Linked DNA regions of Homo sapiens: regions 2, 3, 4, 5, 6 and 7 are each linked to region 1. The links are contacts of gene promoters, found by promoter capture Hi-C in blood cells and fetal thymus (Javierre and others, 2016). All regions are on one chromosome and are shown on one strand. The core of a region is centred on a gene start or on the middle of the fragment in contact, and the rest is flanking DNA. Distances in the headings are between cores, read along the strand shown.

Region 1 (4,144 bases), core at 1,026-3,525:
TGACTGCTGGTGGAATGAAAATAACCCTGGACTTGAAAATAAGATGCTTGGTTCTAGTCTAATCTCTGACACAAACCAACTGTGTGACCTTGGGCAAACTGCTTTACCACCTGGGCCAGTTTCCTAATCTCTAAAATAAAGGTATTCTAAAACTATATACATATATATATGGAATCTTTATTATAGGCCAAGAAGTGTTCCAAGATCTTTGCATTAGAATTAAATGATCTCAAAGGTTTTTGCAGCTCAAATGTTTAGTATCTAAGTACAGAGGCAGCATGGTATAATTAAAAGATTCCAAATTCTGTAGCCAGAAAGGTTGGACTCCTCCTCAGCTCTGTAAGGTAAGGTCTTTCTCTAAGCAGAGACTGTTAAGCAGAAGGGCTTACAGTCTCAGTCCTTTTATTCACCAGTGTTTTAACTTGAACAAGTTACTTAACTTTCCTAGCCTTAGTTTTCTAATCTGTAAAGTTGATATAAAAATGGTTCTCACTCTCATATAGCTTTTAAGAGGATTAAATTATAACACATATATTTTATTGAATATATATTATATTGCTAGCTGTGTAATCATGGGCTATCTTCTCAAGTTTTTTCTCATATACAAATGGGAAATGTAGTATTAAAAAGAGATCATGTGAACAGGTTCTAAATGGTCAAGTGTTAGTGGTTTTGGAAGCATGTACGTTAATACTTGGAACACCGTATACAACAATCCCATATCTAACACTTAGAACAGCATATGCAATCAATAACAACACACACACACACACACACACACACACACACACACACACACACACACACACACACAAACCCTAGACTTCTTTCTTTACTAAATATTTCTAGTCCAGGTTGCAGCAGGTGGACACAGGCCGGCAGCCATGAACGCAGGTCCACATGGGAGTTGTAGTTCCGAGTCAAGCGGCTGCTCTACAGAACGGCTAGAAGCGAGACTTCGTCTCCCAGGAGACATCTCGCCGTGCAAAATGGCACGCCACGAGGTGGAGTACCTGCCCGACGAGAAACAAGAGGCGGGACTGCAACTCCCAGAAGCCTCCGCGGCCAAGGCCTCAGGCCGCAGGCTGAAGCCAAGGAGGGAGAGTTCAGGTAGATCCGGCTTAACATCAGGTGCGAGTAGGGACCACCCTTGGTAGTCTGGGCCCGGCCCAGGTCAGAACCTTACTAAAACAACCACTGTGAGTATTTTCTATTGGTCCCAGCACATTTCTGAGAGACCAGAATAATAATAGCAGTAAATCTGCAAGTGGTAAACTTTCACAAGCATAACCTCAATTTAGATTTCGGCTTCAGGCAACATCCTTTGGCCACTTGACCTGGGAGCATTGAGCTCCTTGTTTCCCAGATAAGCGCTGTGAGTGGCTGTTCCAAGGTAACACAGCGAGGGCAGAATGTGAGCCTACAGAGAAATCTGCAGATGCATCTCAAGTTCCACTAACCTGCCTCCTTACCCCCCACCACCACCAACTTGGATATACCTTTAAAATTCCCCCCTTTGACGCTAAAAATAAAAACAACAACCATAAAATAAGTGTAAGAAAGTCCGACCAAGTACCGATGAGTTCTCCCACAACAATAAATTCGATGCCTCTTTGCCTGTTTTTGAAGTAGTAATGTAAAATTATCTCCCAAAATGCTGCCTTCTCTATACTCCGGTTTGCTCCTGTCCTGGGCACGTGTTCAGCAACCCCTTAGGGGAATCCAGAGCTGCGTGTTTAACACAGACCTGTTGGGACGGATTTTCGCTACTTGTCTATGAAACTGACGAACCATCCCAAAACGGCGGGTGCCGACTACACCCCCAGAGCCAAGAGCTGTGGCGTCCCCGGACCCGCTGGCGTGGCCCCGTGCCTCAGTTTCCCCAATGTATAAACACGGTGGAGGAGGAACGGGTTAGGGCTAGGGTCGGTGCTTGGGAATTGGGGGGCCCGAGTCCCCACCCTGAGACCCTCGTGGGGCGGAAGAGTACTCGGGACAGAAGCCCACCGCCCCGTGAGCGGCGCCGGCCCCACTGGGCTCCGGGGTGATGACCTGACGCGCGTGGAAACCCAGACCCGCGCCCCAGAAACAGTATTCCACTTGGGCTTGCCTCCCCGCCCCTACCTTCCAGGATGTTGACAGCTGGGAATGAAAGGCAGAGGGAGGGAGCGCGGGGCCGGAGCGCCGCCTGGGAGTGTGCCCACTGGGTGGCCGCCTGAGGGACCCGGGAACAGAGGGCAAAAAGTCCTGTGACCGGACAGAGCAGAGCGGGGACTGCAATTCCCAGAAGACCCCACGGTAGGGGCGGGACCCAAGATGGCCGCTTGTCTGGGGACAGGAGCGGAGGCCAATACGCGCAGAGCATGCGCCTACGCCGGGCCAATTGAAAGCCATAGTGACAGTAACCCTGATTCAGGGGCGGGAAACACTGACCACAGAAGACAAGTTGAGGTGAGAATCCCCTTACAAGGGGGTTTGGGGCATAAATCGCACAATCTTTGGCTTTTTCTAACTAGAAAAAGAAACATGATTCTTTTCACGTGTAACGAAAGGCTGTACCGCACTTTTGCTTTTTTCTTTCCTCCCAAAACGCGTTTAACTATCCCTTCACGACTTCCCACTGGCTGGATTTCTTTTCGTTTCATTTCCCCACTCTGGATCTTTCTGGATTCCTTAAGCCTTCTTTTCTTTATGTGTCTCTCAGAAACACAGACTTGCAGTCCCTGGCTTGATCCATCAAATAATGTGGTCATTTACGACTACGCTCAGCCCTCCCTGGCATCCTAACAAAATTGCACCACATGCGCCCCTTCTCTTTTCCTTTCTGTCTTTTCTGTGCTGTTTTTCTCCTTAGCATTTGTCGTTACGAAGCATTGTATAAAATTTACGTATTTATCTTTTTTACCATCTTACTTTCTCACTAGAATGCAAGATCCCTGCAGATGTGGATTTTTGTTTTGGTCACTGTAGTCTTTCTAGCACCTAGAAAAGTGCCCAGCACATAGTAAATACACCGTATTTTCAATAATTGAACGAAATCTAGAGTGACCTTTCTCCCCTAGTCTCCCTTTCTCTGGTGCAGATCAACCCGTTTCTGACCACCATGGTTCCTTGTGCTTGTTCCCCTGTTTAATCCAAAATCATTATTGATGTATTCTGTGCCAAATGCCATGTGGGTGCTGGAGAAATCATTGATTCAGACCCAATTCCTAACCTCAAAATGCTCTGTCTAGTGACGTATGAAAAGTAAAATTAATTTTACAATAAATGCAATTACAAATTGCAGAACACCTACGTAATTTTCACAAGGTCATGCAGCTCCTAAGCAAGGACTAGATTCCTGGCTGCAGACTCTTGCCATTACATCGGGAAAAACAAAGAGCAGTTTTCTCTCAGACAAACACTAAGATAGGTCCCCATTTTCCTTAGCACCATTTCCTTTCTCTGTCTCTCACTTTTTTATTTGGCCTGATTCATTACATGCAGGCAATTACATCAAGTCTTAGATCTCTCATTATTTCTAATATTTGAATCCCATGGAGAGTAGCAAGGTGTCCTACAAAGTGTCCTGGTGTGAAAATCTGATGTCCTTGGAAGCTTGACTCTCAGAGAATGTCACATTGGATTATAGTTCATCACACAGACACCATGGCCACATAAAATATTATCAAATTGTGAATAACAAAGTGAAATTGAAAAAAAAAATATAGTTAAAACAGCAGGAATGTGAGCAATATATGTACAGACTGATTTTGTGCATAGAGATTAAAACACCTGTTCAGGCTTCCTAGCCTAATCTTCTGTCAATTTGGGGTCATTTCCTGTAATACAATTCTTTGTTGCTTTTATGAGCACAGACTTAGCTCAGCAGTCCCAGCTATTCTCAAGCTGATCGACATGAGAGATTTCAACACATGTGTCAGCAGCCAGACTAAACGTGGAAGAAAATCAGAAGCATTTGAAACTGTAAAGCTCAATAACTTTCCTCCTCCTGAGAAAGCATCAGCCTATAATCATTACATCTTCTACTTAGCAGTCAAAAGGCAAATGTCATGAACATACTCAGGGTCTAAACAGTGGTGTCTAATGATTATTGCACTGTTGTCAGATAGCCTAATATGAGCACATAGGTATTACTTCAGCT
Region 2 (4,144 bases), core at 611-3,110, 1.7 Mb before region 1:
TGGCACGATCGCAGCTCACTGTGATCTCCACCTCCCGGATTCAAGCGATTCGCTTCCTCAACCTCCCAAGTAGCTGGGAATACAGGCACCTGCCACCATGCCCAGCTAAATTTTTTTCTGTATTTTAGTAGAGATGGGGTTTTACCATGTTGGCCAGCATGGTCTCCAACTCCTGACCTCATTATCTGCCTGCCTCAGCCTCCCAAAGTGCTGGGATTACAGGCATGAGCCACTGCGCCCGGCCAGGGCATGAGTCTTTAAGAGTCCTAGGACAAATTAGCATTTACAACCTCTGAGATGTTCCATAGCAAAGGAAAAAGAAAGAAATAGTGAAAACTGAACTTGCTATTTCTCATGCTCATTTAAACACGAAACCTTTTTGCCATTTAATACTTTTAAACAGCTCCTAAAATCGGTGTTTCCTGCTGGTCCACAGGAAATCTGTCACAATAAGATATAAGGTTTTCAGACTGAGATTCGTAAACAAAACTCCTCAAAAATTGTACTTTGATCCAAATGCAGATTCATATAGTGCCTTCAGAACCTTTGAGATCTGATTCTATTTTTAAAGCTTCTTAGAAGAGAGATTGCAAAGTGGGTTGTTTCTCTAGCCAGACAGGGCAGGTAAATAGGGGTGGCTGGTGGGATGGGAGTTCATTTGCACCCATGTACAAATTGCTGGGGGTCATGGTGAGCTGGAAACCTACAGCCCTCAGCTGCAGCCAGTGGCTGCTGTGCAGTGGGAATATGGGTCAGATCAGTGAGAGCTTTAAGTTTCTTAGAGGACATGGAAACCTGTAATTTTTAAGCAGGGAATTTCACAACTTTAATGTGTTACTTCACATTTTTAAAATACTGTGATGACCCAGCAAAAACAACAACAACAACAAACAGATGTTGAGACCAGCCCCATCTCGTGAGCTACCAGGTTGTGACCTTGCCTGGGATGGGGCTGTGGACTATTTTCAGATTAGTAAGACATAATAAAATGAAAGGATGTGTGAGTCTCTGAGGCAAATGCTGTGCCTGGATAAAGATGTTGGTGACTCATGCCCTCCATAGATTCGTGATGCTTTGCCTTCATCTTTCTTGACTGCGAGTCAGCAGCATTGACTCAGCTGATGACGTCTTCCTCCCCAATACATATTTTTCAATTAGTTTCCAAGCCTGTTCTTTTGCTTTTCTTCCTACCTTCTCCATCTCCTTTGCTGTTCTTCCTCTTTTCCCCAGTATGGGAAGGGTTAGAAAGCTCTAGGGCACAGCCCTTGATCCTGGTTTTCTTTCTTTCTTTTTTTTTTTTAATTTAACTTTTATTTTAAGTTCAGGGATACATGTGTAGGTTCGTTATACAGGTAAACTTGTGTCATGGAAGTTTGTTGTACAGATTATTTTTTTTACCAATGTATTAAGCCTAGTGCCATTAGTACCCATTATTTTTCCTGATCCTCTCCCTCCTCCCACCCTCCACCCTCCAAAAGGCCACAGTATGTGTTATTCCCCTCTGTGTATTCATGTGTTGTCATTACTTTGTTCCCACTTACAAATGAGAACACGCAGTATTTGGTTTTCTGTTCCCACATTAGTTTGCTAAGGATAATGGTCTCCAGCTCCATCCATGTTCCTGCAAAGGACATGATCCCATTCTTTTTGATGGCTGCATAGTACTCCATGACATATATGTACCATATTTTTCTTTATTTAGTCTATCATTGATGGGCATTTAGGTTGATTCCATGTCTTTACTACTGAGAATAGTGCTGCAATGAACATACGCAGATTTACTCATTTCCTCGGCAATCTCACATGGCTTCACAGTGGTAGATGCTATCTATATGGCAAGAGTATACAGATTTATATTCCAGCCCAAATCTCCTTCCTGAGCTCCAGACTAGTATATCCAAGTCACTTGTCATCTCTCGTCTGAGATCTTGAGCCCAAAAGATCCAAAGTAAAACTCCTAATCTCCCGACCCTGCTAAATCTCCATACACAACTTTGCCTATCTTGATTAGGGTCTTGGCACTGGTGATGATGGACAGTGTGGTGAGTTTTGTCACTTCCTTCATATCTTGAATGAAGTGTTCCCTTTCTAAGGAGGTCTACCCTGACAACCCTGTTTTAAATTATACACTCTAGTCTGATATACCTCTTCCTGTGGCACTTATCTTCTAACATACAACATATTCTTCTTTATGTTTATTTTTTCAGCATCTTCCTCCCCACACTGGAATGTAAATACACCAGGGTGGGAATCTCCATCTGTTTTATTCACTGTACCCTTAGATTCAATATCAGGTGCATAGTAGATACTCAATAAATATGTATTGAATGAATGAATGAATGTCAGTTGTCACTTGGTTAAAAAAATTTCAAGAGAAGGTATGCTTAAAGCTGGTCATAAAAGTTTAATGTTCATTGTCCACTAATTGCATTGAACCACAAACCACTGCTGTGTAAACAAAGAATGTCTTCATGATGTTTTTGGTAGATAGAAAACCTACTACAGTAGGGGCAGGTTTGAAGAAATGATACGTAAATATATATATACATACACACTCTTTTTCTGATCAGCAGTTCCACATGTTGTTGCAGAGACCAAATATTCTAATGGACATGACTGTTTAAGCATTCTAGCAGCTTTCTGCTGGGTTTCCAATTTTAAAATTTAAAAGAAGAAAAAAAGCACTGCAGTCTTCTCCTTCAATGGAATAGCTCATTTCCCAGCATGTTGCTAATCTCCAGTTTTGCCCCAAAGATAGTATTTTAAAAACTTTCACACCGAGTTCCTTTGTGTATCAAAGACAAAGTTATTATCAAAATTATTACTCATGTTCTTTGTCATGCAAAAGGCATAAGTAATGTTTTTAATAATGCAAGCCATTAAAAAGTAGATGGGCTGAATTCATTGTGCCTGTTTCTAACCCGCTTTGGGAAAGGATTTTTCTACGCAGAAAGGTGTAACCCCTTGATGCCTGCATGAGTCTTTCCCCCCAGTTTTCAATATAGAGTTGAACATGTTCTTCATTTAGAGACTCAGAGACAAAGCTGCAGCCCTTCAAGTTATTTCCATCAAGAAGAAAAGGGTTTTGAAGGAGATAGGCTCACTGAAAGGAACAACTTTCTTTGGTAACAATGGATTTGGAGGAAAATAAAGCTTGTGGGATTTCTTTAAAGGATAATTCCCTCATTCAAAATGGTTTAGGGTTAGGGCCATTGGACAAGAGATATCTTAGGAGTTAAGATTCCCTTCATGACTGAAACCTTACTATCACTGGCTAGCTAAGAAATAATTGTGGTGTGTGGGGAGCGGATACTTCATATATGTGCCCCTGTTTTCCTAGGCACTTAAGGTCATGAAGTTCCTGCTTGGGTATCACTAAGATTAAAGAATCTATTTCCACTGAGTTCCACAATCTTTTTTAAACATGGTGCTCCGGGTAGCCACCAACAATCAGTTTGAGTTGGTATGTGAAATTATGGTGCAGGATAAAATAAGACATTTTGTAAGAAAGTATTTGTAAAGGATAAATGACAACGTCAGGCAGAGTGGCGCTCATGAAGTCTAGACTCAAGGCCAGATTTCATGTCCCTCTGGTTGCTGCTACTACCTTGGCAGCCTTTCTAAATTCTACAATTCAGGTGCCTGCCCTGGCTTTTGACCAATGCCTGATGGCCCTCTCTGAGGTGTCTTAAACCTTCATGCAGGTTTTTAGAACAAGAGATACGGTCATAAGATCCTCATCTCAGCTCATCACCCTGGTATGTTTTGAGCACCCTGGCTACATACAACAAACATCTTTGTTTCGACTGCCTTAAATTATTTGACATACAAATGTGACATTTTCTGAGTTTCGTTTAGAAGAACCAGGTAGCCTGTAGCTTTAATTCCTTTTACAAATAAGAGTCTTTGTTCTAGTCCAAAAGAGTCCCAACCTATAAGGTCGTATAATGGGAGACAGGAGAGAAGGCCTGGGATTAGAATAGGTCCCCAGAGAGGAGAACATGTCGTAACTTTCTCAAACCCCAAACTTGTGGTGCTTCTCTGCTACTGGAAGAAAGTCGTGTTTCTTTTTCCCTTCTCATTTTCAGAAAAGAAGTGTGAAAGGATCAAAAGAAAGGATTTGCTTAGATGTTAGTGTGGCCTG
Region 3 (4,144 bases), core at 1,093-3,592, 1.7 Mb before region 1:
GTGGCACTTGGTTGTTTTCCTCTGTATTGAGTTCTGTCACCCCAATGCACTCAGTCAACACTGGAGAAAAATGAAAGAAGTTTGTTCACTATAATACAAAATTCCTAGTAATAACAGCAGCAGATAGGGCCAACATTTGAAGTCTTAGCTGTACCAGGCACTGTGCTACAAGCGTACATCAATTTTTAAATTTAATCACCCCAACAATTCTAAGCCAAAAATACTGTTGTTACTATCATACCATTTATGCAGAAACTGAGGCACAGAGAGGTTATGTAATTTGCTAAGTGGGATATAGCTTGGAATTCGTGATTCAGGTTTGAATAAAAGAGCTGTCTGACTCAGAACTTGTGATCCTAACCTTGCATATGCTTAATTGTTCTACTTCTGATTTTTTAAAAGCCATACGATTTCAAAATAGTCCTAACAAAACCTTAAGAGAAAATAAACCTGCAAGTTATTTTTACTGAATCATGCATAAGACAACTCCAGGAACAGGCCATAACTTCATAGGTTTAAGTATGAGTTTGAAAGGAGGCATATTGGCTTATCATTTTAATTCTTTTTATGATAAAAAGGAAGACAATGATCTTTGGAGGTGTGGGAGGACAGGATCAGGTAAACAGGGTATGATTTACAGTTTTTAAACACTTAGGTCTACAAATTATATTAGCTGTTGCCACCTAAAGTTATCTCTGCAGCCACCTAGAGCCATACTCTGAATATTAGTTTTTCTGAGATAAGTGCATTGGTTTCAAAAAAAAACAGACACTGGAGCTATTTGTTAGTACACTGTGCTTCCCTCCAACTTGCAAAACTCAGTGTCCCAAATCTACTGTTAGCCACATGCATGAGCAGCTGCATTTCAGAAGATATTTTTAATACATAAACAATAATTTTTCTACTTGAAATTCATAGTAATAAACCCTGCTTAAGAGTACGATTTAAAGCTCTTCAGAAAAAAAGATGCAAAGGATTAACAATGCTTACGTGGAGAATAAGTCTATTAAAACATACTGGTTAGCATGCTCTGATGAGCATTTTCAAAGAATTTCCTAATGTTTGTTTAGGACAAATGCTATTTAGTTTATTTATAAAATGTTAAACATGTTGTAAAATTAGAACATAGAACCCTTGAAGATTTTCCATCCTCAAGCTAACCAAAAACTTTTTCTTAAAGTGCCCTTAAAAATATTAAGAAACAAATCTCTTATGGAAATATCAAGAAAAGTTCCCTGGGGAAAAACCAGCTTTTGGTCTAAGAAAGACTAAATGCAAAATACACTTATTTCTGAAACATATGGTACACATATAGTTAAATGTACAAACTTATATGTAATATATAAAATGAAATATAGAAAACTGAAATATATCTATACATATACTTAATATGTGTAAATACATACTTAATAAAATATTCTTCAAGTTAAAAATTAAATTGGTAAAATTATAGTAGATTATAACTGGTTTATACTGTTTGTTGCTTTTCTCTCATTATAACTAGTTCTGCTCTTGGATCACATTACACCATTAAATCTTTTGATAATTCGAAAAAAGTATTGCTTCCAGCTGCTGCTGAAAAAACAAACTAAAGAGGCCTTCTAAACTGGTATGAAAAGAGTTATCAAACAGGCTCCATTAATAAGAATTCCCTTTTCTGCACTTGCATTTGCTTGTTGTTGTTTTAGATTTAGCAAAGGCAAATCCCTAAAAGGCTAATAGAATACAGCAGTAATCCATGATTATCACTAATACACAAATGCCAGACTTTGTGTGTGTTAACGAGAGCTGACTGATTTGCCTTCTGTGAGTGCTGTGACTTCAGTCTTGCATTTTTCGCTCTCGTCTCTGTTATGTCTTCCTTCATTGTGCATGGAAATTAGAAAGCTTTCTTTTCTACTTTTACCTGAAAGGAAAAAAAAGTAAAGAATTTTCAATGTAAGCATTTTAGACTTAAAGACATCAGGCTTGAAAGAAGGATGTTCATAAAAGAACTAAACCTTTGCATAATTGGACATAATTCTGTGGAATTTGTTATTCCAGATATGGTTAAAAAGTGAAGGTTCTGCAAAAAAGTTAGGTAAATACCTGGGAGATGGATCTACAATGAGATACTGAGAAACTTTGAGCTGTTTAGGTAACTTGACTTCGTGGATGCAAACGACACTCCTCATCAGAAAAAGAATAATTCACTGGGCAGGCAGACCATTAGTCTGACTTGATTTTCCTTCATTTATTCATAAAATATTTATTGAATGTCTACTACATGCCAGGCTTTGTGCTTGACAGTTAGTGTGTGATAAATGATACAGACATTTTCCCTGGCTGAATGGAACTTATATTTGGTGGCTGAGAGTGATTATGATATTATGTGCTGAATGTAATAGCAGGGTAAGTAGAGAGTGCTGGTCTCAAGGATCTGGGAAAGTTTCCAGGAGGATGGAATTAAGCTGGGGTTTAAGGGAATAAGAAATCAGCAGGAAAAGTAAGGGGTGTGGCTACAAGTGTTCATTCTATACCAAGAGGGATCATGTGCAAGAGCTCGGAGATAAGAGAGACCCTAGGACAACCAAAGATGCAAAGAAGTTCCATACAACTGCACCTGGTTCAGGATTAATACACTAGACACTGTTTAGGGTGAAGTAATGAGAACTGTGAAAACATACTGAGCCTAGCCTTTGCCCAAAAACAGAGGGCTTCCATAACCAATGACGGAGGGCAAAAACAAGCGAAAAGAGGCCAAGAAGCTAGGCTACAGCCCAAGACCAAAGGAGAAACAGCATACATGTTAATGGCTAGAAGCTTTAAGGCAGACAAACTACACATCAAAGAGATGGATATACTGTAGTGGACAGGGGAAGGCCAGCAGTGATAGACAATGTTTTAGAAAATAGTGAAGACTGTTTTGAAGTAGCATCCATTCAGAAGTAGGTCTCAGCAGACTGACATGGTCGATGATGATGAACATGGAAAAAGTATTATTATTTTGAAGGTGAATGGGGTTGAGTGTGGGTAAAATATGACTTTCCTTTAGGAGGAAATTAGGTAGGTTTTATAGACAGCCTTTTGTCAGTTCTCCAAAAGTTTCTACTCCACATAAATTTAGGGGTCATGATTAGATACCCATTATTGTCCCTTCTACATTAATAAAGGCTACTTATTTTTAGAAAGATAAGTTGTTTTAAAAAAATTAAATAAAACATTTCAACAATACTAACAGAATGGTGAATAACATAGCAAACACCCATGTGCCTTTTACCCAGCTTTATTAAATTTGATTTCTACCAAATGTGCATGAGGTATTTCTAAGAAATAAAACATTACAGATATGTTAAATTTCCATGTATACCACTCTCCGATTCCATTTCCCTCTTGCCTTCCAGAGAGGAAAGTTATCCTGAATTTGGGGTTTATCATTTCTGTGTATATATATTTTTACTACTTATATATCCGGAAAGAATATAAAGAATTGGCATTTTAAAATAAATGTGTATAAATGACACTGTACTATATATGTATCATTCTGCATCTACTCAGCATTATGTTTTTGAGAGTTATCCATATTGACACAGGAAGCTCTAGTTGATATTTTTGAACTGATTAATAGTATATTATATCTTTAGTATATCATATTTTAAAGACATGTATGTTGCTGGATATTTACATTGTTTTATAAATTTTTGCCTTTACAAATAATGCTTGAATGAATTTCTCATCTTGTGAAAATGAGAGAGTATAGGTTGGGTATGGGTTGGGTATCGGTAAGTAGACATGAAATTGGAATTGCTAGGTCACAGGAATCACCCATGTACAATTTTACTAAAACTTTACTGCTTTCCAAAGTGGTCTTATCAGTTTACACTCCCACCAGCTGCATACAGGGCTCATATTACTCCATATCTTTTTCAGCACGTAGTATTGACAGACATTTAAATTTGTGTCAATCTAATGAGTATGAAATGGTGCATCAGAGTCCAGCTGGAACACTCTCAGTCTTTCAACAGAGGAAATTTAACACAGACAATTGATTAGACAGATGATAGACTAGCTGAGAAACCAAACTAGATAGTGAAGCAACATTCACAATAGTAGAAGGCCATGGTTAACAGAAATCAGAAACTAGGGTCACCTGTCTGAAATTGAC
Region 4 (4,144 bases), core at 625-3,124, 1.7 Mb before region 1:
CAAAGTAAAAAGGAATCAAATGATGTGAGTGTTAAAGGTTTTTCCCTAGACAGCTGAGAATAAATTGAAAACAAATTCAATTAAAATAACATTCAGCCTTTTTTATTTCTTCCATGGAGTGCTTCCTCTGAAGGAGGTGCCTAAAGCTAACATGCTGCTTTGAAGGGCTACCCCGTCCTGCACCAGACAGACGTGGGAAGACCAATGCAGAACGTGTGTCCATGATGGGCTGATTTAGGAAGCTGTTCTCTAAAGCCACACGTTTCTGCCTCCTGCAGATATCTCTATGTCTGTTTGCCATATCCCTTTCTGCTTTCTTTTGGTTAAAAATCAGAAGACCCCTCAAAGCAAGGCAAGCTTCCCATCATGTAATAACCTTCCCGCATCTCAGCCTTATGCCCCAAGCTGAAATCTGGGTCTATCCTTACCCCAACCTTCGCTGCTGCTTTAGTTTCACAAGCGCAGTCAGGCTTCCTCTATCCACAGGGATTTTCAAGCCAGCCCTAGCAGTCATGCAGTTTTTCCTTCCTTTTCTTATTTACTGTTCTACTCTATCATTTTTATTATGAAAGTCCGACTCCCTCCTTTAAGAAGACAAAGGATGGAGTGGTGTATTTTATAAGGAAATGCTCGCTGTTTCTTCCTTCCCTCTAATCACTGCTGCCCTTCCACAGGTAACCAAGGGCAGTAGCTGGGTGTGGATTGCCAGCCTATACATTTCCTTTTCCCCACTTCCCTACATCCAACCCATCTCAAAGCTCTTTAATTCTATCTTTAAAATGTTTTTCAAAGCAGTGCATTTCTTTCCTTCTTTCCTAGTCATTGTCACCCATTAGGTGTATTTATTTCCTAGGGCTGCTGGAAGGAAGCACCACAAATTGGGTGACTTAAAGCAACAGGATTATATTATCTCACCATTCTGGAGGCTAGAAATCTGAAAATCAAATGGTCAGTAGGGCCAGGCTCCCTCTGAAACCTGCAAGGGTGTCCTTCCTTGCCTCTTCCTGGCTTCTGGAGGTCTCTGGCCTTACTTGGCCTTACTTGGCTTGCAGCTGCAGCACGCCACACTCTGCCTTTATGCCATCTGGGGTTGTCCCTGTGTGCCTGTCTTCACATGCCTGCCTTTTTATAAGGACACCAGGCATTTGTTGGACCCTACTCCAGTATGACCTCATCTTAACAAATTATATCTGTAATGGACCCTATTTCCAAATAAGGTCACATTCCAAGGAGTAGGGGGTTAGGGCTTCAACACATTTTGGCGGGGGAGGAGGGGACACAATCGAACCCATAGCACAAGGCTACAGTGGACTAGCCTCTTACTTTCTCAGAGTAGAACCTGCCCAGCAGCCAGAAGAGTTCCTTCAATTTCATGGAGATCCAGGCACTCTTCTCCTTAAAACCCACCCTTACAAGGCTTCCGTTGTACCTAAGGTAAAATCCAAGCTCCTGATACAGTTGACAAGGCTTTTTTATCTGGATCCCGCTCAGCTGTGCTGCTCAAAGCCTTTACCTGTAGCCCCTCTCCCTTCATTCAGCCCCCTCGCCCTCCTCCCTCACGCTCCTCATTCTTTGCTGAGTTAGCCCTGCTCCTCCATCACATCATATTTTGAATGCTTCTCCTTCCTGGTGGCCTTCCCTGACCCCTCCAAAATCTTGGCCGTATGTACGCAGCCTTTTTTTCCTCTCTCACTCTCCTACGTGCTTATCTCACCTGTACTGATGTCATCCTCAGGGCATTTGTTTAATGTCTGTCTTAAACAAGTGTTGACGAACTAGGGCTAATGGGCCAAATTTGGCCTGTGGTCTATTTTTGAAAGACCCTTGATATGAGAATGGTTTTTTATATTTTTTAGTGTTGTTAAAAACAAGCATACAAAAAATACAAAGAAAATATGCTTCAGAGACTGCAAGTGGCCTGCAAAGCCTTAAATATTTATGCTCTGGCTCTTTATAGAAATGTGTGATGATCCCTGGTCTTACCTACTATCAACTCCCTGGGAGCCAGAATCTTGTCTGTTTTATTTGCTGCTGTGTCTGGAAAATCTTGCAAGGGGTCTGGCACTTACTAAGATCCTTGCTAGATATACAGTTGTGAAGTGAATGAGTTATTCAATGAATGGTTGGTTCTCAGTGACTGTTGATTTAGGAGAAACCAATCTTTTCGTAACAGCCAGAGAGACTTCTCTGGTAGTATGTATGGATTTTGATAATCTGGCAATTCAGTCATTTAATAAATAGTGAGGACCAGTGACATTTTAGACATTAGTTGAGTAACCAGGGAGGGAGACTGAGCTCTTCTCTTGGGAAACTCATCTGAAGAAGAGATGCAAAATGTGATGAAGGGATTTAACCAGGGCATCACTTGTGAAAGAGAAATTTAAACAGTGTATTCCTGGAGGCTGGGTGTGATGGTTCACACCTGTAATCCCAGCACTTTGGGAGGCCAAGGAGGGTGGATCATGAGGTCAGAAGTTCGAGACCAGCCTGGCCAATATGGTGAAACCCCATCTCTACTAAAAATACAAAAATTGGCTGGGCATGGTGGCTCACGCCTGTAATCCCAGCACTTTGGGAGGCCAAGGTGGGTAGATCATGAGGTCAGGAGTTTGAGACCAGCCTGCCCAATATGGTGAAACCCCATCTCTACTAAAAATACAAAAATTAGCTGGGCATGGTGGCATGCATCTGTAGTCCCAGTTACTTGGGAGGCTGAGGCCAAAGAATCGCTTGAACCCAGGAGGCACAGGTTGCAGTGAGTCAAGATTGCTCCAAGGCACTCCAGCCTGGGCAACAGAGTGAGACTCCGTCTCAAACAAACAAACAAACAAAAAACAAGTGGATTTCTGAAGGTTCAGTTCCTCCTTGGTGGTAGGGAAGAGAAGAAGGGGATGCTGTCATCTAATTTTATATTATCAATACACAAACACTGTTCTCCTAGAGACAAATTTTCCCCAGATGGGCTGGTTGTTGCTTTGCCTCTGGTCCAAACAGGACCATCTCTCATGAGTCATTCTCACTTTGTTGCCCTCAAAGTGCAGGTAGTTGTGGAAAAAAACAAAACTTTAAGCATCCTCAACTCCAGCCTAAATGAGAAAGCTGTTGTCCTGTGCAGCCTATGGAAACTCTTGAGGAATGAACCAGAGACCGCGTCCCTTAGTAGACAGCTGAGCAGCCCTTCCTTATCCAACCACCATCTTTCACCACAAGGCATGTCCTTATGGCTGTCATTTAAAATCCCACCTCAGCTTTTATTTTTTCCAGGTTGCTGCAGTTTTAATGCCTATTTTCAGAAGCAGGATGAATCTGAGATACACAATCTGCCAGTTGACCTAGCTTCTTACAATTCAGTGATTCATTTCAAAATCTCTCCCTGTGAATCTTGAGAAATCAAGCTTAAGGATAGTGTTAAGTTGTACAGAAGGTCTTTGTTCTTCCCACTTTTGGCTAAATTAGAATCGGTTTGTCTTGGACTTATTCTACGCCTTTCTACTAGAACTTACCGAGATCTTTTATTTCCTAACTGTATTTAAATTTTCTTTTTAATGTAAGTCCTTGAGAGTTGGCTTTTGTCCTCCAAACAGGTAGTAGCCTCATCATACAGCTGGAAGTGCCCTTCTTCCCCTCAGTTCTTCCTGCAGCTCCCAACTTGAAGTCCACCCCCCTCCTGGAGGCCTTCCTTCAGCACCAGCAGCTAAACACACCTGTTTTTGAGGCTCCCACGCCTCCCCCAACAAATGAAAAGCCAAATCAAGGGCCCAAATTTGCAGAATAATTAAAATTATATCATTTGTCTATCACAATGAAAGATACAATGGGACTCAAATTCACTGACACACAAGAAGATGGAGAGTTCATTAAAAGAACATGTAGCATAGAAGCTGAGTCCTGCGGTGTGGTGGTGAGGTCCTGGCACAGGACTGATCAGAGCCGCAAGTGTGACATCTTTCGGTCTGTAAGTTGCCCCCTGCACCTTTGCAAGGCTCCGCAGCATTGGGAATAGGAGGCCCTTTGAAATGAGAGGCCTGGCCAAACACTGCTGGGTTTTCTCTGTGTTCAGTGGATCTTTTTCCCCATTGTTCACCAGCACAGTGTCCTGTTCATTTCCTTTAAAGCATATCTTCCAATTTGTAACTATTTTACT
Region 5 (4,144 bases), core at 721-3,220, 1.7 Mb before region 1:
AAATATGTTGAGAAAATGATATAAGATATGAAAAAAACAAATCAAAATTAAAAATATTCAAATTAGGTGACAAAGCTCAAGGAATTAAAATAAAAATAAAAAGTCATTTAAAAAATAGTGGCTAAACTAGAAGGAACAAAGGAGTAAATAAACACAATATAATGCCTTAAGAAAAATGGAAGATAAAAGGAGGGAATTTTTTAAAATCAAAAAGAAATGAAGAGATAAAAAGGATTCACATTAAATTGACAAATATTGAAGAGGCAAAGAAGATCCAGTATATAGATAATGGGAGTTTGTGAGAAAGAAAACTGAAGCAAGGAAGAAGAACAAATCTAAAAATATAATTAAGAATTTTATCCTGGAGTTAAAAATTTTTAAAGTGCATATTGTGAAAGACATTTTTTCAATATCAACCAATAGCGAGATATAGCCCAATAAAATGTCTGAACTTTTTTTAAAAATGGAAAATAACATTTGAGCATCCTAACAAAGAGAACCCTTGACTTACAAGGGAAAGAATATCAGATGTCATCAGACTATTTGACAGCAACATTTTACTTCAGAAGAAAATGGAATTAAGAAGGCATAAGGAAAGTCATCATCCACCACAATTGACCTTCTAGTGTAAAGGGCATAGACAGTCATCAGTATCCAAATTGGAAAGAAAAGTCACATTAGCCTTGTTTGCAGATGACATGGTCTTATACCTAGAAAAAACTAAAGACTCCACCAAAAAAACCTGTTAGTACTGAAAAACAAATTCAATAAAGTTGCAGGATACAAAATCAACTTACAAAAATCAGTAACATTTATATATAACAATATCAAACAGTCTGAAAATAAAAAGAAATCTCATTTACAATAGCTACAAAAATATATAAAATAACTAGGAATCAAGCTACTCAAGGAAGTGAAAGACCTACAAAAGGAAAAGTACAAAGCTCTGGTGAAAGAAATTCAAGAGGACACAAAAAAGTGGAATGATATTTCATGCTCATGGATTGAAAAAAGTAATATTATTAAAATAAGGATACTACCAAAAGCAATTTACATATTCACTGCAATCCCTATTGAAATATTAATGACATTCTTCACAGACATAGGGAAAAAAATCCTAAAATTTATATGGAACCACAAAAGACTCTGAAGAGCCAAGGCAATCCTGAGCAAAAAGAGCAAAGCTGTAGGCATCATACTACCTGACATCAAATTTACTATAAAGCTATAGTAACCAAAACAGCATGGCACTGATGTAAAAAGAGACACATAGACCAGTGCAACAGAATAGAGAACCTATATATAAATCCACACATTCACAGCCAACTCATCTTTGACAAAGGCACCAGAAACATATAATGGAGAAAGGGCAGTCTTTTCAATAAATAGGGGTAGAAAAACTGGATAACTATTATACAGAAGGAAACTATATATTGTAAATGAAAATCTAATCAATAGATTAAAAGACTTAAATCTAAGGCCTGAAACTATGAAAGTACTAGAAGTAAACATTGGAGATATATTCCAGGACACTGGTCTGGGCAAAGGTTTTTTGTGTAAGACCTCAAAAGCACGGCAACCAAAGAAAAAATAAGTGGGATTACCTCAAGCTGAAACACTTCTGCACAGCAAAGGAAACAATCAACGAAGAAAAGAGACAACCTGCAGAATGGGAGCTAGTATTTGCAAACTATGCATCCAACAGGGATTAATGACCAGAGGAGTTCAAACAACTCAGTAGCAAAAGGAACAGTCTAACTTAAAAATGAGAAAAAGATATGAACAGACATTTATCAAAAGAATACATATAAATGGCCAACAAGCATGTGAAAAAATGTTCATCGCTAGTTGTCAAAGAAATGCAAATCAAAACCACAATGAGATCTCATCTCACCCCAGTTAAAATGACTTGTGTCAAGAAGACAGACAATAACAGATGCTGGTGAGGATGTGGAGAAAGGGGAACCCTCATATACCTTTGGTGGGAGTGTAAAACAGTTAAGTACAGCCATTGTAGAGAACAGAGTGGAGGTTCCTCAAAAAACCAAACAAAGAGCTACCGTATGTTCCAGCAATTCTACTACTGGAGAAAAAGAAAAAAAAAATATATATATATATATATTTGTGTGTATATATGTGTGTACACACACACACACACACATATATATATATATACTTTTTTTTTTTTTTTTGAGACAGCGTCTTGCTCTTTAGCTCAGGCTGGAGTGAAGTGGTGCCATCTTGGCTCACTGCAACTTCTGTCCCCCTGGGTTCAAGCAATTCTCCTGCCTCAACTTCCCAAGTAGCTGCCTCAGCCTCCCATGTAACAGGCCAGACGTGATGGCTCATACCTATAATGCCAGTGCTACTGGGAGGCCGAGTTCAGGTGGATAGCTTGAGCTCAGGAATTTGAGACAAGCCTGAACCACTGCACTCCAGCCTGGGCAATAGAGCGAGATTCTGTCTCTAGAAATCAAAAACAAAAAAAGGTAGCAGTGGTAAATGTTATGTGTGTATTTTACCACAATTTAAAAAATTAAGAAAAAGGAAAAAAATAAATAGAAATGTAAGATTTCAGGGGTTACCTTTCCCATTCTCTCTCTCTTTTTTTTTTTTGTCAAGGAATCTAGTAGAGAATTGTCTTCAGATTACCAAAATGACTAGAGACCTCAATGTTAGAACTGGCAGTAGGCACTAAATGTATTGTGGCAGTACTTGTGTGTCTATGACTAAGAAGAGAAAGATTCTGGTAAGTAATGCTTGTATGATTTGAGAATGCAGACATAGTACCACAATAAAATGAGGAGAAAGATGGGAGAGCATATGTAAAAAATGTTCTATAGTCAGGAATCATTATTGATGGCTTTAGTGTTGTTATTCCAAGACTCATGTATGTATACAAGTGTAATGTAGGAAAATTAAAGTAAATTTCTTAAGCTCCCAAATTTGAATTAAAAATATCATTATGAATTCATGATATATTTAGACGTTGAGCATTGATGACTTCTACATTCAAAAAAAAGCGAAAAACAAGACATGATGCGTCTCCAGGTGAAACAACCCAGTACCACCATTAGTCTTGCCAAAAGCATCAAACTTGAATGTAATTAAGCCTCTTGATCCAGTTGTTAGTTTGCAAGAAATACCAAAGAGAGAGGCTCATGTTGAATTGTCTGTGTGTGCAACCAGTAAAATCCAGACTGCAGGAAACTCTACATGTATGGCACAGGTTCTTCAACAAATACATAGTAAGGGGAAAACATGGTTGGAGGGAAAAATATCTCAACTAGAATACCTTCTTCACCTTGCATTTATATTGGAAGAATAATAGAAGAATTTAAGAATTGCCTTAAAACTCCTGAAATTTCTTAAACAATTGGTTGTATGATAAGAAAATGTAGGGAAGATTTGAGGATTCAACTCATGGCCATGATAGCAATAGCTATTATGCATGGAAAGCCTACCATGTATCTGGTACTGTAATAAGAACCTTCAATGTATTAGCTCTAATCTTTATAGCAATATAGCAATTCTGTGAAATAGTAAATATAATCCCCATTTTACAGTTGAGAAAATAGAAGCACTGACAGGTTAAGAAAATTTCACAAGATAATTAATACATAGCTGAGTCAATGGGCTAACCCAGGCCGGTGGACTTCATAGCTCATAATTTTTAACTACATTGTATAAAAAATTAACTTGAAAATGTGTATTAAGAAGCCTATGTTGTAACCTTAATGCTATCATTTGGGAACTTAAAAAGGTTGTGTTAATAAATCTTTTGTTACAGTTCAGACATAAAGCTAAAAAGGATGGTGTGGGATTTAGCATTAGCCAAATGGTATTGGCATCTAATCATCAGCGTATCAGAGAGAATTTATATTGGACATTAATTTTTGGCTCTGTAGAGATGTCATATTTTTGAACTCTTATTCTATGCTTTGAGAATTGTCAAGCACTGCTTCTAAACATTTTATCACTTTCAGTCTTATTTTGCATCTCTCATTTTATGGAAATTTTGTTTAGCAACATACTTAAAATCTTGGTTTCTGATAGAATCAGAACAAGATTTTGATGATGCCCCTGAAGGCAAAGTGAGAAATCATTAAACTGTTATTAGTATTCTATAACTGATCCCTTATAC
Region 6 (4,144 bases), core at 632-3,131, 1.5 Mb before region 1:
TCTTTAAAACTTTCTAGCCCAAACATCCATGTGACATTTGTATCCCTTTGGCCATATTGCTTTCAAGGCTTCAATGCTCTAGGAAAGAGGATCTTACTGCAGTACTGCTAGATTTAGGTGGAGATCAAAATTACCAATGTTTGAAAGTGATATTTTTACATTAACTTGATCAAGAGTTAGAACTTGGACTTATTACTCAGACAGTCTGATCCTTCATTGACAAGCTGTGCTGAGAAACCATTCTGTGGGCTAAAGAGGATATGGACTCCCAGGATTGCTCTGGCATTGCGGTTGAGAAGATATACTGGAATAACCTCTTTTGAAAACAGTTTAGCATTACCTCCTAAAGTTGACATCTACAACAATATGACTGCCAGGTATATTACCAAGAGAAATTCTCATATGTGTACAAGAAGACATGCATGAGAATGTTCAAAGAAACTCTGATTAAAATAGATAGAATCTAGTAATGACCAACATCCCACCAGGGAGTAGATGAATAAACCCTGATATGTTCACATAATTAAATACCATGGCTCAAGCAAAACAAATGTTTGATAGTGACACACAGCTCATAGGGAGAAATCTTAACAATATATTAGTTTAAAAAAATTCCCTAAAGACAATAAAAATATACACACTTTAGGAATCCATAGAGATGCCTAAAACTATATGAAAAGTCACAAAGCAATGGTGAGCATAGATTGAGGATGCTGGACTGACTCCATGTGAGGAGACAAGGGGATGGTTTTTTGTGTGGGACTATCATACTGTTAGATGTGGGATAGTAGCAAAATCATAGGTTTTGTTCTGGGCAATGGGTTTGCAGATACTCATTAACATCATTAAACATAACTACTTACACAACTAAAGAAAAGGAGGCTATGATGGAAAACAAAGAGAAATGATCATCCTTGAGAGGCATGTAAGATTACAACATCGGATGACCGCAGTTTTCCTCAAGATAGGAATCCAGCTCCCATTCCAAAATGTCCACCAAAGTTGCAACATAGTAGCATTTGCCATATAAAAGTACTGGAGTTATTAACTGGATTCCAGATGTCTGAAACTGATGTATCCCTTCACTGAATCCCGACTAGGATCTATTTTGGGTATAGCACTTCACACAGGTTGCTGTTCTTAATTAAAACTTCTCTGCCTTAAGAGCTTTATGTCTGTGAGATAGTCATCCAAATGTTCTCCTCTCCATAAATGTGCTCTTATGTTTTATTTTCACAGCAAAATGCTTGCCCAGATTTTAATAAACATGTCCGCAGTAGTAATATACATTTCGCATGCTTTCCACATTTCATAATCTCTTTAGTCCTTTTGTTTATGTTGATTCCCACACCAAGAAGGCTGTTTGGAAGGCTTTGCAGCTCTGTCTCCATTTCTTCTGCCTATCATTGGGGAATGAAACAGCACACTGATTGCTATTTGGGTAGGAAACACAGACAAGACGTTGAAAGAAGTAAACTAATTTCCAAGCAATTTTGCTCCTTTCTCTCTTTTTGATTGATTTTGGCAATAACTCACCCCAGTTCATTGACATTAGAGTAAAGCCTAGTAGCCAATTTATTGCTTCAAAATCTGTGAGAGTTCCTAATTGGTTATCAGACTGTGTCTACCAGATGCCAAAATTAAATTTCTTTTAAATCAAGAAAAAAGTGATTTTCTGGCATCCCAGATGCAAAACAACCCCGATTAACTGTTCTTTCACATTGCAAATGGCTATTTGGGCCTTGGGTGGAGAGAAAACTCATCTACTTACAACAGGAGGGGGTCAGATTCTGGACTCGATCCTTCAGCCAAAATGCAGATAAACCACAAGGAACAAATACTACTCTATGAAAAATGGAGAGCTGGGCCGGGCGCGGTGGCTCACGCCTGTAATCCCAGCACTTTCGGAGGCTGAGGCAGGTGGATCACCTGAGGTCAGGAGTTCGAGACCAGCCTGGCCAACATGGTGACACCCTATCTCTACTAAAAATGCAAAAATTAGCCAGGTGGGGTGGTGGACACCTGTAATCCCAGTTATTCGGGAGGCTGAGGCAGGAGAATTGCTTGAACCCGGGAGGTGAATGTTGCAGTGAGCCGAGATTGTATCATTGCACTCTAGCCTGGGCAACAGAGTGAGACTTGGTCTCAAAAAGAAAAATGGAGTGGTGTTCCTGGCTGAAGGAGAGATGCCCTCGGTCCAATGTTGGGGAAATTTTTGCTCCCGGAAAGTGGAAACATCAAAGGACTGGAGCCCAACATTAAGGATGGAATAATTATGTTGTTGTTATTGTTATTTTTAATGGAGCTCTATTGAGTGCTTGCTGTCTGCCTGGCAATGTGCTCAGTGCCAAGTACAAACATGATCTCATTTACTCTTCATAAGAGTACCTACCCCATCCATGGTGCTGTCATTTCCATTTTTAGATGAAGAAGTTAAGGCTTAGAGATGTGATCTCATAGCTAGTAGGCAGTTGGGACTCCAGGGTCCCACTCCCTTTCTGTCTATTCCCCCTCCTCATATAACAATACATAGCATTTGCTAAGCAATACAGACTAAATTGAGGCTCTAACTTAACTTAAAGCTCTTTTGCATACAGAATGTTATTTGATGAACTCTAGGGTAGGTAGAGGCACAATATTATTATCCCCATTTTATAGAGAAGGGAACAAAGGCCCAGGGAGATTCAGTGAATTGCTTGAGTCTTCTGCCATGTTGGACTAAAAGCCTCAGTGTTGCTCTACTAAAAAGGTCCCTCAACTAAATATAACAGGGGTGGCCTGCATCTAGTCTCTGAATTGGAACATCACAACTGACAGAGCTTATATCGTGGGTTCTCTTATTTAAAAAGCAGAAATTCTAGGTAATGGTCCAGTGCAATTTCGACTCCATCTCCTAATCCTTTGACATCAAATGCTCTGGTCCTGACTTACTGGTCCTGGACATGGTTTTCTTGGCACAGTAGCAGGCCTTTACCATTTTACCTGCATCTCTCAACCCTTTGTCCTGTTTCCATCTCATGTGAGTAGGAGTTATTCTTTAAACAACTGCCTTGTATCTCACTACCAGCCCTTTGCACATACTGTTCTCCCTGCATGGATGGCATTTCTTCCCCTGATCCACCAGCACTGGACTTAGGTGGCCCTCCAAGATGGTTCCATTTCAGGACACTTATTGTACATGCCTTCTAATTTATCTTCCACTCTATAGGTTTCCTGGGGGCAAAATCATGTCTTTTCACAATAGCCAATCTTTTCTTTGACTTCCCAGACATCAATGTCATATGGTTCAATCTAATACCTTAACCATGACCTTATAAAACCAAAGCTAGGCACATAGGAGAGGCTCACTAAATACTTCTTGCCCAGATAAACTTATCACAGTAGATATTCAGAAGGATGACATAGTTGTACCCATCCTCAGTCCTCAAATAAGAGTTTAATTATGTTATGTAAACCATATGATATACTAGTGAGGCAGGAACAGATACACATTGTAAAAGAGATCCAGAACAAAATAAGATTTCTCTGTGGCCTTCGCCAATCTTAAAATGTAACTATATTTACTGAATCAAACTCTTACAGCATAATAAACTTACTTACAAAGAATCAGGGTAGACAGCCTAACCTTGAGTACCTCAAGTCTTTGCCCCTGGATCCCACATAACAATATCCTTCCCTCTTTTAAGGAAAGCTGGAAAGAAAACCACTCTGCCAGCAGAAGGGCAAATAAAAGGTATGTCTGTGCCTGCACACAGAGGTTGGCATCCTACCCTGATTTGTGACCCATAATTAATGTCAATTTCATAATTTCGGAGGATAGAAGATCAACAAGGAAGCTGACCTCTGGCTGTCTCACAGCTAATCATCTTTTGAGGCGGAAACTTGAGAGGAAACAGAAACGACAGGCTGGAGCACCAGGCTGTGGCTCGGAGTGTGTTTTGGGTGATCTGCCAAGCAGTGAGAACCCATGGTCACGTGCCCTCTCTGTGCTGGCCCCACAGTGACACCTGCTCACCCTCCATTGGGTAAGGTGGGAACCTGCATCCCACCCTGTAGAAGGCTTGGCTGGACGCCTGCTAGTCTCTACAAAGTTCCTTCTCATTGTGTGCACTCTTCTACATGGCTTCTTAATTATGTATGTGCA
Region 7 (4,144 bases), core at 511-3,010, 1.4 Mb before region 1:
AATCAATTACAGAAATGGGGCTGAGTGGGAGTAGTCACTGAAGCCACCGTTGATGTACTTTCCCTAACCATTTTATGCAGGCATTCCTTCATGGGGGTCTCCTCAAGTCACTGGAGTCCTCAGCAGGGGAAAGGAAAACAGCAATAGAGAAGGAGGTTAGGATCTTGGGCTTCATTTTGGGAGTCACAGTACTAAAACATCACCTCATGATTAGCAGATAAAAGGTGCTGCCCTGGGCTCAGGCAATTACAGGAAGAAACAACCCTAAAGCAGAATTCACAACATACTGAGTTCATGAGGAGGGCGATGAGGCTGATGTGGGGACTGGCTTTTCTTCTTGGTGACTCAAAGACAAAGCCAGCAGTACTTATTTAAAACATGCCACGTGCTCATGTTTATGTGAGGAGTAGAAGACAACGGCTTTGGTAAAGGAGAAAATTCACTGCATAATTGAATCTTTGAAATTCCAGAGGGAATGGCCTTTTCTGAGAACAATGTCTGTTATTAACAGAAGAATTTCGAGGCCAAATGCAGAGTTTTCCACCAGGTTGCATAGTGAGAGTCATATTTTGAATGGATATATAGTTTTTTAAAAAAAGAACTCTGAAGAGTTATGGATGTTTCTCAATATCTTTCTCAAGAAGGCAACAGATTTTGGACTCAGCAGATAACCCTTTATCCTATAGCTGTAGTGATGATGACATGATAAGCTGTGTAGCCTGAGCTTAGATGCAGAAGTGAATTCTGGGCAAGGGTCCCACTAACCTGTCTTCCCTGGGCTCCAGACCCACATCCCTAGCTCCTTGTTGGGGGCTCCAACTTGTACAGCCAGCACATCAGGCTCAGTAGGTACAAAGTTGACATATCAATTTTCCCATGAAAAGAGATCTTGTTTTGACAACACTAGTCTTTCAGTTACCTAGACTCAAAATCTAGAAGCAGCCCTGCTCACCTTCATCTCCTTCACAGCCTGAACTGAGTCAAGGGTCAAATCACATAGCTGGGTTAGAGATATTTTTGACACAATTCCTTCCTTCCTTTCCACCCACTTTGAGTTGGCACTTGCTTAAACACTCCCTGTTTTACCTCTGGATAGTTACAGTGCCCCTCACTTGTTTCCTCATCTCCAGTAATTATCCATTCCAACCCATCCTTTAAACCCATGCCAAAATCACTTTCATAAAGCTTACCTCCACATTCAAATCTCAGTACTCTACCAGGCACATGGTGGCTATTCAGGTAATATTTTCTGGATGGATGGATGGGTAGATGGACAATGTATTTACTCATCATTTACTATATGCCTGACATTGTGCTGGGTATTAAAGACAGCAGGAAACAAACCAACTTCTAACAAAACACTTCCCTGCTCATGAGCCTTGAATGGCCAATTAACATAAATGGTTCATTCCAGCATTCAAGCCCTTCTGCAGCACAGCCCCATTCTAATTGTTTCACTGGTCACCTACTCTCCCATCTGTCCTCTAGCCAAGGGTTTCTGACCTTAGCACTATTGACATTTTGAGCCAGACAATTCTTTATTGCAGCTGCTGTCTTCTGTATTACAGCATGTTGAGCAGCATCCCTGGCCTCTACCTACTTGATGCTAGTGGCACACAGCCCCACTCAAGTTGGGACAAGCACACATGCCTCCAGACAATGCCAAATGTGCCCCGGGGGAGAAGAGTCGAAAAGAACCCAACTGAGAACCACTGGTCTAGGGTGGCGCCCAATTTACACCCACTGTCCTAGGGAAATTATTAATAGTACTCCCCTTTCACTTTCACATGTGTTCCAGTTTAGAAGACAAACTAGATTGGTTCCCTGCTTAAATCTCCCGAGACAGCAACCTTGCTCTGTTCTCATGCAGATTGAAGAGGAAAGCAACAAATTAGTATGAAGCCTTCAGCTTCCAAGCAACACTTTTTTTTTTCTGGTGAACCGGTCTCCTCTTTAAAGATTCAACTTCTCTCTTCTTCTTTCAGCACATGCAGTACTGGGAAGTAAAACTGGCCCAAATGCTCTGCAGGGAAATGTGAGGATCATAAGCTATCCTCGCCTCTCAAAAAAGAATCACAAAAATATTTACAGCTTTTCTCAAAAAGTTTCATGTTCCAAAGATCCCCTTCTACGTCATTCTAACCCCAAATGCCTCAAAAAGAAGTTCAAAGCTCTCAAGTCCATCGATCCAACTTCTTCTCTGGCCAAAAAACAATTTCGTGCCATGTGTTAATGCAAAGGGCTCATGCTGTATTCACGAAATGCCAAGACACCTGGTTAAAAAGTTCAAAAAAGTTAAAAATTGATCCATAATTTCGACTAGCATGGTAGTTCTCAAGCTTTACTGTTTCAGAATTCCCTGGAGTGCTTGCTGAATTGGAGGTTACTGAGCCCCAGTCAGCAGAGTTGCAGATTTAGTAGGTCTAGGGTGAGGCACAATAATTTGCATTTCCAAGTTCCCAGGTGATGCTGATGCTGCTGGTCCAGGGATCTAGAAGATGCCCGCTGCTCCCTGCTTATTCCCTCACAGACTGAAACGTACGATATTACGGGGTTAGGACAGTGGGCTTGGGAAAGAAGGGAGGGAGGTCAGGAGACTTCATCCGGCTGCTTGCTTAGGTTTTGTGTTTTTCATTTTTTTTTTTTGCCAGTTAGTCAGAAGAAAACGATTTTACCCTGGCCTGTGCTGGGCACCATGCTAGGCACTAGGGATGCAGCAAGAACCAGACAGACCTTGCCTCCTGCTGTTTTCCCCTTTAGAGCCACAAGCTCTTCTATGGGCTCCAATTCCATTCCTTCTAGCACTCCCTTTCAGTTCATCAGCTGCTAATCAGCACCTTCAATCACTCTCCAAATCCCCACAAGACAGCTTCCATTTTTCAAAAGCAAAGCCAAAGGGAAAATCAAGAGTTTTTAGAAGCATCTCCTATTTCGGCAAGTGCTTCCCTTTTTGACTCTGATCCATTTCATCAAAAACCCTTATTAGAGTGGTCCTTCCCAGGTGTATCTTTTTAGTTACCTCTGGAGATAGGAGGTGCATCCAGTTTATTCTTTCTGCTTTGTTTCCTGTCCAGAGGAGAAGAGTGCTTTGATCCAACACTGACAACCACGTCTGCAGGGGCCTCAGACTTGCTTCCAGGGAACAATCACTCAGCCTATGATTTTGAATGCTTCTTTTGTCACTGTCACCAAAGCCTGAGGGAAAGCAATCTACACGCTGGTTGACCTCTGAGGCGACTGCCAGAGGTGCCAGCTGTTTCCCCTAAACTACTACTCACTGTTGAATGTCTAGGTTTCCATCTCCCAGGGAAGACATTGCCCCAGCTTACCTCTTCATCATCATTTGGGAAGGCCAGAGAAGTGTGGGCGAAGCCATCCTGCCTGGCGTCCTCAAGACTCTTGTCTGATACCAGGGCTCTCTCTGGGTCTATAATCTTTGTTCAGGGAATAGGGAAAATGTCCTGTGATTTGTTAATCCCTCCTGTGCAGTGAGGGGGAAGTTTTAGAGTAACTATTTATATTTTTGTGATATCAGGAGCATCTAGATATCTTTGCTTACAAGTTTTTTTTTATAATTTTAGCAAAGGAAAATTTTATAGTTTTTAGCAAAGGAAATTTTACCTTTCATCATAATAAAAAATGTATTCTAGAGGCCATTATTCATGGGTTAATATTATCAGGGAGCTAACGATGGCTTAACAAGAGATGGGAAGCCATTTTGGAAGTGTTCTATTATGGAAAGAGGGAGGGCCTGTGACATGGATTCATATATCATATTCATATGGATTCATATGCCAGCCATGCGTCAGCCATGAGTAACATCATTTCTTAAGATGTCAGAGTTTTTCCCAAGCACATATGCCCTCAGGATGAGAAACAACTCGTCTGTTTGATAAAAAAAGAAAAAAAAAAGAAAAAAAAAAGATTTTAGTTCAAGAATTTTATAGATTACAAATTTCAGAGATTCTTTATTCCAGTATAGAGACACAGAAATCAAAAAGAATCATCACTCAAATATACATAGGTCTATTAGGTGGGGACACCTGGTAGATGTAATTATAGTTTCATATGCCTGTATTTAATGCCACTGAACTGTACTCTTGAAAATGGTTAAAATAGTAAATTTTATGTTATGTGTATCTTA

What was found. Contacts are between HindIII fragments. The CHiCAGO score rates a contact against its expected background, and 5 or more counts as called.
Region 2: a contact is called between a fragment that was not itself captured here and the fragment with the promoter of FHIT in region 1, in 2 of 17 cell types (naive CD8 T cells and naive CD4 T cells). The highest score is 6.2, in naive CD8 T cells.
Region 3: a contact is called between a fragment that was not itself captured here and the fragment with the promoter of FHIT in region 1, in 3 of 17 cell types (total CD4 T cells, naive CD4 T cells and non-activated CD4 T cells). The highest score is 6.9, in total CD4 T cells.
Region 4: a contact is called between a fragment that was not itself captured here and the fragment with the promoter of FHIT in region 1, in 8 of 17 cell types (total CD4 T cells, naive CD4 T cells, activated CD4 T cells and 5 more). The highest score is 13.9, in total CD4 T cells.
Region 5: a contact is called between a fragment that was not itself captured here and the fragment with the promoter of FHIT in region 1, in 6 of 17 cell types (naive CD8 T cells, total CD4 T cells, naive CD4 T cells and 3 more). The highest score is 8.7, in naive CD8 T cells.
Region 6: a contact is called between a fragment that was not itself captured here and the fragment with the promoter of FHIT in region 1, in 4 of 17 cell types (total CD4 T cells, non-activated CD4 T cells, naive CD4 T cells and 1 more). The highest score is 6.1, in total CD4 T cells.
Region 7: a fragment that was not itself captured here is called in contact with the fragment with the promoter of FHIT in region 1 in 2 of 17 cell types (naive CD8 T cells and total B cells); the score reaches 5.2 in naive CD8 T cells.

The regions. Positions count from the first base shown.
Region 1 is chr3:61,249,177-61,253,320 of GRCh38, forward strand. It overlaps FHIT (fragile histidine triad diadenosine triphosphatase), which reads right to left and starts at 2,276. Exons shown (of 10, transcript NM_002012.4): 1 at 2,125-2,276. It overlaps LOC124909387 (a long non-coding RNA gene), which reads left to right and starts at 2,416. Exons shown (of 2, transcript XR_007095939.1): 1 at 2,416-2,451. RefSeq lists enhancers at 865-1,144, 1,425-1,554, 1,695-1,824, 1,955-2,014, 2,079-2,373. The HindIII fragment of the contact is 4,935 bases long and covers 1-3,595 here.
Region 2 is chr3:59,501,989-59,506,132 of GRCh38, forward strand. The region is part of intron 5 of CFAP20DC-DT (CFAP20DC divergent transcript); the gene reads left to right. Among named protein-coding and RNA genes, the nearest start is that of CFAP20DC-DT, 420 kb to the left of the region's middle. The HindIII fragment of the contact is 2,582 bases long and covers 570-3,151 here.
Region 3 is chr3:59,547,727-59,551,870 of GRCh38, forward strand. The region is part of intron 6 of CFAP20DC-DT (CFAP20DC divergent transcript); the gene reads left to right. Among named protein-coding and RNA genes, the nearest start is that of CFAP20DC-DT, 460 kb to the left of the region's middle. The HindIII fragment of the contact is 915 bases long and covers 1,886-2,800 here.
Region 4 is chr3:59,568,966-59,573,109 of GRCh38, forward strand. The region is part of intron 6 of CFAP20DC-DT (CFAP20DC divergent transcript); the gene reads left to right. Among named protein-coding and RNA genes, the nearest start is that of CFAP20DC-DT, 480 kb to the left of the region's middle. The HindIII fragment of the contact is 3,038 bases long and covers 356-3,393 here.
Region 5 is chr3:59,586,632-59,590,775 of GRCh38, forward strand. The region is part of intron 6 of CFAP20DC-DT (CFAP20DC divergent transcript); the gene reads left to right. Among named protein-coding and RNA genes, the nearest start is that of CFAP20DC-DT, 500 kb to the left of the region's middle. The HindIII fragment of the contact is 4,368 bases long and covers 1-4,144 here.
Region 6 is chr3:59,765,352-59,769,495 of GRCh38, forward strand. All of the region lies in intron 8 of FHIT (fragile histidine triad diadenosine triphosphatase), which reads right to left. The region is part of intron 6 of CFAP20DC-DT (CFAP20DC divergent transcript); the gene reads left to right. Among named protein-coding and RNA genes, the nearest start is that of CFAP20DC-DT, 680 kb to the left of the region's middle. The HindIII fragment of the contact is 7,479 bases long and covers 1-4,144 here.
Region 7 is chr3:59,872,045-59,876,188 of GRCh38, forward strand. All of the region lies in intron 8 of FHIT (fragile histidine triad diadenosine triphosphatase), which reads right to left. All of the region lies in intron 2 of LOC105377113 (a long non-coding RNA gene), which reads left to right. Among named protein-coding and RNA genes, the nearest start is that of MIR548BB, 740 kb to the right of the region's middle. The HindIII fragment of the contact is 1,154 bases long and covers 1,184-2,337 here.